Regions from separate parts of the Homo sapiens genome. Here region 2 is linked to region 1. Evidence: promoter capture Hi-C in 16 types of primary human blood cells and fetal thymus (Javierre and others, 2016). All regions are on one chromosome and are shown on one strand. Each heading gives the region's core, a stretch centred on a gene start or on the middle of the fragment in contact. The rest is flanking DNA. Distances are from core to core; before and after follow the strand shown. Region 1 holds the start of LINC02906 (long intergenic non-protein coding RNA 2906). Region 2 has its middle 91 kb from the start of RUNX1T1.

Region 1 (3,651 bases), core at 404-2,903:
CCTAGGCCCATTACACAGGTAATAATAACCATTCATTTAATTAATACTGACACAGTAAAAAATTTAGAGTACTTATAACACCCACATTAATATCAAGAAGGTTCATTAGAGCTAATACTACAATAAATATAAAATGAATTAGTAATGATTACACCATTGTTTTAAAGCATTCTTATTTGTACTTTTGTATTTACTTTAATCACCATCACTCTAAATGGCAGTGAACAAAAGCCAGGCTGGGCATATTTATGTAGAAATAATGAGGCATATAAATGCAACTCAGTGAAAGCCATGCACATCTTATCTGCATTTGTTCATCAACACACCCATTTGTGTGGAAGGTTACTAAAAAAGACATACTCTTTATAACATTTGTGAGGAAAATTAAAATCATCTTGCAATTGGTCCTCCTCTTTGGTTTGAAATTGTTCCTTCTGAATACCTCCATTCTGATTCAAGATGCTAGCAGAGTGCCTGGCACACAGTAGGAAGATCATAAATATTTGTTAAATAATGTCCATGCCTCCATGTTACATTCTCGTCTGGAAGGACTACTGGCTACACTTGAGTATGTTTAATTTTAACTTTGATTTCAAAGAATCTGTTGATGATTGTCTACATTTACAATCAATGTTGGACAGATTTTATTTACTAGGGGGCAAAAGGGAAAAGGAGAGAAATCTCTCTATTTCTGCCAGCTAACCAAAGTGGGGCAAAGAATGTAATAGATAACTCCTTCTTTCAGAATGGGTCAGTAGAGAGGAAAATCAAAAGAAAAAGCTATAAAGGTGTATTTTACATTCTCTTTTCCCATTCCTTCTTTCATTTTTTTTTTTTTTTTTTTTTTGGAGATGGAGTCTTGCCCTGTCGCCCAGGCTGGAGTGCGGTGGTGCAATCTCGTCTCACTGCAAGCTCCGTCTCCCAGGTTCACACCATTCTCCTGCCTCAGCGTCCCGAGTAGCTGGGACTACAGGCGCCCGCCACCACGCCCAGCTAATTTTTTGTACTTTTAGTAGAGACAGGGTTTCACCGTGTTAGCCAGGATGGTCTCGATCTCCTGACCTCGTGATCCGCCCGCCTCAGCCTCCCAAAGTGCTAGGATTACAGGCGTGACCTACTGCACCCCGCCCTCTCTTCCCATTCTTTATGGCTGAATCATTATCTTTTAGGATGTCAGGAAGCTGATTGTTTCAATTACTCTGATAAAAGAAGGCAAAGAGGAAAAGAAACAACAAAACTCTCCTCTCTTCCTTTTATACCCTTGCTAATGACAAACATTTCCACATGGGCTCTTACAGAATCTTAAGTCCTGATTACATCTGAACTAGAGCTGAATGGATAACATAGTTAAGTTGCTATTATTTTAAAAAGTTACTTGTATTTGCTCTTAAGTACTGGGTAGTCAGAAACCTGCCATTTTATGAATATTGACAATGTGATAAAGGGACAATTCCTCCAAAATAAGTCACAGAGTCCTGAGCATCTTGGAGGGGAAAATGTGGGTGTTTTTGGTGGGTAGAAAATGGATACTTACTTGTCTTTGGAGATCGGGTTCTCTTTGGAGTTCGCATGCTGCTGGATGAATGCTGTCAAAGTCCTGGCCCATGCTTGCTTGCCCTCTAAATCCTCTGCCCTAGCTTCTTGTTGCTTTGATTTTATGTTCTCTCTACTCACATGACTATTTGTCCAGCAGAGAAGCTAAGGATTTGCTAACTGTGAAGAAAAAGATTATGTGTTTCACAACACTGCAAGCCTCGAAACCACAGAAGCAGTGAGCAAGCTAACATTTATTCTAAAGATAAACATGAAATCCAGGTAAAGAAACAAAGCACAATTTATTATCCTATTGATCACTAAGAGACTAATGTCTTTTCCTTTCCTAAAGACATTTATCCAATAAGCTTTGTATACACCACAGCAACAATCTGTAACCCATTACAGAAGTGTCACTAACATAGCGTTAATTACCACAGTATGTGACTTGGAAATGGTATCTTGAGTAAAGTGGGATATTTGGTCCACAGCCCAACATCAGGGTCTTTTTTGTCTCCAGCTTGAGGCCATTCTCCACCTCTGGGTCAGGAAATAGGATATTCTAAGGAGTTAAGAAGTAGGTTCCTGATGTTTCTTCCTTTCCTTTCTCAGTTTATACCTCCAGGTCAACACTCTCATCTGATCTCAGAAGAATTCATCATTTTTTGAGGACCTACTTTGTGCTAGGAACTTTATGTAAATGTGTTCTTTTAGTCTTTATCACTCTGTAATATGTTAGTGTACTCATTTATCGGTGTAATTCTATGTATATAACTCAATAAACTGATAATACAAAAAGAACTTTTAAATTGGTATGCCCACCTCACCAAAGCTCTTTTTATTTAGTCATGAAATTTCATAACTAAAGGAAGTTCACAAATTGAAGACTAAAGATTAAATAACACAGGTAATAAATGACACACAGCATTACCATTAATTGCACAGAGCCACCTTTGCAGCCACTCCTGTGGGAGGTTATTTGTAATTACATTGTATGCTAGACCTGTATGTGAAGTGAACAGACTTTTTCTCACCATCCTGGTCAAAAATATTTTATTTAATACCAGATCTAAATACAGACTATTTTGCTAGATACTAGAGAAGTTTTAAGGCTTTTGTCTAATATGTGAGAACACAAGTCTTTCTCATTTTAGATCAAGCTATTACCTCTCTTCAATTTGCATGTTAGCTTTTAAGAGCACTCTTGGAAATCATAAACGTACCCAGGCACTCTGCCACCATCTACTTTGGTCTGTAGCATGATGGAAAGGAGGGTGAGAATAGGGAAAGTGGATAGATGAGAATCAAAATAGATGATGCTCTATTCTAAATAAATTAGGGAGAAAGAGAATGTAAGAAGAAATTTTAAAAAGTGAAAGGTTAATACTGATAATAATAATAATATCTAATCTGTCAGAGTTTACTATGCAGACACAGTGCTAAATGAGTTATACACATTATTCATTTAAATCCTCAGGATAATCCCTTCATTTAGGTGCTATGATGATCCCCAAATTGCTAATGAGACAGCTGAGGTTTAAAAAAGTTAGTATCTAATCCAAACTAGCTAGTAGATGACATCTGGATTCCAACCCAGAATGCTTGCACCAGTGCTTGCACCTCTAATCATTATGTGTCAGGAAGCAGAAGGAGATAAACAGAACCAGCAATTACTTCATGGAAAGAGCAAATATAAGCCTGTGTTCCTAATGCCACTGGCATACTACAGAATTAGGAGCCAGTATTCAGGAGGGGGCTGATCCAGGCAACTGTCCCATTTGTTGTTTTTGCAGTCATGTTGATTGTCTCTCCCTCTCTCTCTCAGGTTAAATATTCATATTAGTGGAGAAAGAATGGGCTAGACAATAAACAGTTTTGGAGCAAAAGAAAAATTTAGCCAACTTCTTATCGAAGTATAGCATGCATACAGAAAAGCAACGATTAGATGTTTAGTTCAATGAGTTTTCACAAAGTGAACATACCCCTGCGTAACAATTCCCGTGTAATACCAGAGACACCAAGAAACAAAACTTAGCTAGTCCTCCAGCAGTCACTCTCATCCCAATCACGAATGCCCCTAAGGTGTAACCACTAATCTGATTTTAAAACTGTGAATTA
Region 2 (3,651 bases), core at 534-3,033, 970 kb before region 1:
AATGTAAAAAAAAAATAGCCGGGCATTGTGGTGGGTGCCTGTAATCCCAGCTACTCAGGAGGCTGAGGCACAAGAATTGCTTGAATTTGGGAGGCAGAGGTTGCAGTGGGCTGAGACTGCATCACTGCACTCCAGCCTGGGTGACAGAGTGAGACTCCGTCTCAAAAACAAAACAAAAACACCCAAAAAAATCCCCAAATTTCAAATAGGTAATAAAATTTCTATGATATTATTGTCATAATGTTAAGTAATTATAAAAGTCCCCAAATTATACATAAATGATTATTATAAATGTATTATAATAAAGTAGTTATTTTTGTAAAATATTGTGATTGCTTTTTAAATTCAGGACATAATAAATGTTATGACTATCAATGACATCAGCAGTGTCTTGTACAAGATCAAACTTGAGATGATGTGAATAAAACCACAAGCAATCTTACATTATTTTCAATGAATTTCTACATAAGATGAGAGAACAGTCATGCTTGAAGCTTGTTTTTGTAACAAATTATGAATAGGTATTAAAATAAATGCTTATTATCATAGCTGGAAAAGATCCATTGCATATGGATGTTCAAATTGTTCCATATTATCTAGTTTGATATATAAAATCTTGTGATATCAGTAGAACAGGTAAAATTAGTCCTCATTTCATAGATGAAGTAAAATTTGAGTTTAAATGACTTGCTCAAGTCAAACAATTGGCTACTGAATAAGGAAGCAGGGACTAAAGGCCAGGTTTGCTGACCTTGGTTTAGTAAGTTTCATTTCCATTATTCCACCAGGAAATTTACATATAATTAAATGTACTTCTTTTAGTATACTTTGTTTTCTGAAAAAGTTTGTGTAGAATTGGTATTATTATTATTATTATTATTTGAGACTGAGTCTTGCTCTGTCACCCAGGCTGGAGTGCAGTGGCGCCATCTCGGCTCACTGCAACCTCCGCCTCCCGGGTTCAAGTGATTCTTCTGCCTCAGCCTCCTGAGTAGTTGGGATTACAGGCACACAGCACCATGCCCGGCTAATTTTTGTATTTTTAGTAGAGACAGGATTTCACCCTGTTGTTCATGCTGGCCTTGAACTCCTGACCTCATGATCCACCCTCCTCGGCCTCCGAAAGTGCTGGGATTACAGGCGTGAGCCACTGCGCCCAGCCTATTATTATTTTTAAATGCGTGCTTTTATTAGGTTGGTGCAAAAGTAATTGCAGTTTTGGACCATTAATTTTAAATCATTATAACTAGGCTCAAACACATCTTTATCAATCAAAATAGGAACCATTACAATCAACACATTTTTGAGAAATGTGTGTTTAATCCTGTAGAGTAAAAATCCATACTTTGAGGTTCAATGAACTCTTGGTAAGCATTTTCTGCATTATGCTGGTTGTGGAAGTGTTTTCCCTGCAAAATGTTGTGGAGGTGCTTGAAGCGGTAGTAGGCAGCCAAAGGTTAGGTAAATATGGCAGATGAGGCAAGATTTCGTAGCCAAATTTGAAGCGTTGGTTGGGCAACGTGCGGTTAGGTGTTGTTGTGGAGAATTGGGCCCTTTCTGTTGACCAATTCTGGCTTCAGGCATTGCAATTTTCGGTGCATCTCATCGATTTGCTGAGCATGCTTCATGCTTCTCAGATGTAATGGTTTTGCTGGGATTCAGAAAGCTGTAGCGGGTCAGACTGGCAGCAGACCACCAAACAGTCACTATGACCTTTTTTTGGTGCAAGTTTGGCTTTGGGAAGTGCTTTGAAGATTCTTCTTGGTCCAACCACTGAGCTGGTCATCGCTGGTTGTCATAGAAAATCTCCTTTTTTATCATATGTCACAATCCAATAGAGAAATGGTTCATATTGTTGCGTAGAAGAGGAGAAGACGAAACTTAAAAACGACGAAGTTTTTTGATTTTCGATCAGCTCATGAGACACCCACTTATGGAGCTTTTCCACCTTTCCAATTTCGGCTTCAATGATTGCTCTCGATTAGTCGTTATCAACTTCTGATGGCCAGACACTGCGCTCCTCATCTTCAAGGCTCCTAGCTCCTTTGCAAAACTTGACCCACCACTGCACTGTATGTTTATTAGCGGTTCCTGGGCCAAACGCGTTGTTGATATTGCGAGTTGTCTCCGCTGCTTTACGACCCATTTTGAACTCAAATAAGAAAACTGTTCGAATTTGCTTTTTCTCTAATTTCCATAGTCTAAAATAAACACAAATTAAACAGCAAACAATAAGTTATTAGCAAAAATAAATAAATAGAGAGATACCCATTAAAATGATGTATAACATAACCACATCTATTTAAGAGTGTATTCCAATATCAAATGGCAAATTTCAGCAATGCAAAACCCACAATTATTAATATGTTTGCACTCATCTAATAGTTATAGAACCTCTTTCTGAACCTTAAATTTTCTCTATGGCAAGATATTAAGTGAAAAATTATATTTCTGTAATAAATATATGGTTCTGTAGGTTTTGTATTTATTTTCTCTTTAGTGAGCTTAGGTAATTAGTATCATTAGAGGAATTTGTCCATTCATCCAAGGTGTCCAATCTGTGGGCCCAAAGTTGTTGGTAGTATTTCTTTATTATCTTTTAAACATTCATAAGGGCTGTAGTTATATTCCCCTTTTCATTCCTGAAACTTTTTTCTGTATGTCTGGCTATAAGTTTATAATATTTTTGGTCTTTCTAAAGCATTAGGTTTTGGTTTAATTATTTTTTCTCCATTCTTCACTGTTTTCCAGGAAAAAATTATGTTTATCACATAATATTTAATAGAGAACTGTCAAAAGTTGTGTCATGTCTGCCCCACAAGGCAATTGGGAAGGTCAAAATATGATGTTTTACATGCTACAATTTTGAGACATCGATTTAGTTTAATATATAATAATTATTAATTTAGTAGTAAAATCAAATTTAATATATGCAAAATGGTTAATAGTAAAATGGTATTTAAAGGCTTATAATGAAAAACAAGTATTCTCTTTTCTACCCACCACCACCTTGGTTGCTCTCCCAAAAGCAACTACTTTTAATTTTTTAACTGTTTCTCCTATTAGGTACATTAAAGCTTAGCAGTGTAAAAAAATCAAATAACCAGAATAATTCTAAATAGCCCTAACATTACTGAATCTGAAATGATTCAGTGATTCAGAACCTTAGGGCCATTAGTAAGAATATCAATTGTCATTTTATAAAAGTGCTGATCAATACATTTACATAAGACATGGTGGTGGACAACAAAGACCTTTTTGTGTATAGAATTTTTATTTTCACTGAAGACAAAAGTCATCTCTATATCAGGATACACAGAGAAAATTATATTGGCATATACTGTTCTTAGGATTGTCTCAACAGCAAAATTGCATATATCCAATAAATGTTTCCTTAAAGTACATTTTGGAAATCTTTGTCTCAGTAAAGGCGATTCTCTAGTCACATTGCCTAGTCATGGTCTTGTGAGAGTAACAGTTAGTGGATCCAGGCTTTGAACTCTGCTTTATACAGACCTAGTAATCTAGGCAGAGACTGGATTGAATCCTGTTCACAGTAAGCTTTCCGTTGTCCATGGGTACTTCTGGGATCTAGTAAGCAGAAAGGAGTGTAAGGTCTCTCTCACACTATCAAAGTTTTATGCTGTTGTC

What was found. Contacts are between HindIII fragments. The CHiCAGO score rates a contact against its expected background, and 5 or more counts as called.
Region 2: a fragment that was not itself captured here is called in contact with the fragment with the promoter of LINC02906 in region 1 in 1 of 17 cell types (M1 macrophages); the score reaches 7.2 in M1 macrophages.

Annotation. Positions count from the first base shown.
Region 1 is chr8:93,165,197-93,168,847 of GRCh38, forward strand. It overlaps LINC02906 (long intergenic non-protein coding RNA 2906), which reads right to left and starts at 1,654. Exons shown (of 3, transcript NR_161372.1): 1 at 1,535-1,654. It overlaps LOC105375644 (a long non-coding RNA gene), which reads left to right. Exons shown (of 5, transcript XR_928417.1): 4 at 1,694-1,815. The HindIII fragment of the contact is 1,956 bases long and covers 1-1,899 here.
Region 2 is chr8:92,192,684-92,196,334 of GRCh38, forward strand. No RefSeq gene overlaps it. Among named protein-coding and RNA genes, the nearest start is that of RUNX1T1, 91 kb to the left of the region's middle. The HindIII fragment of the contact is 2,583 bases long and covers 493-3,075 here.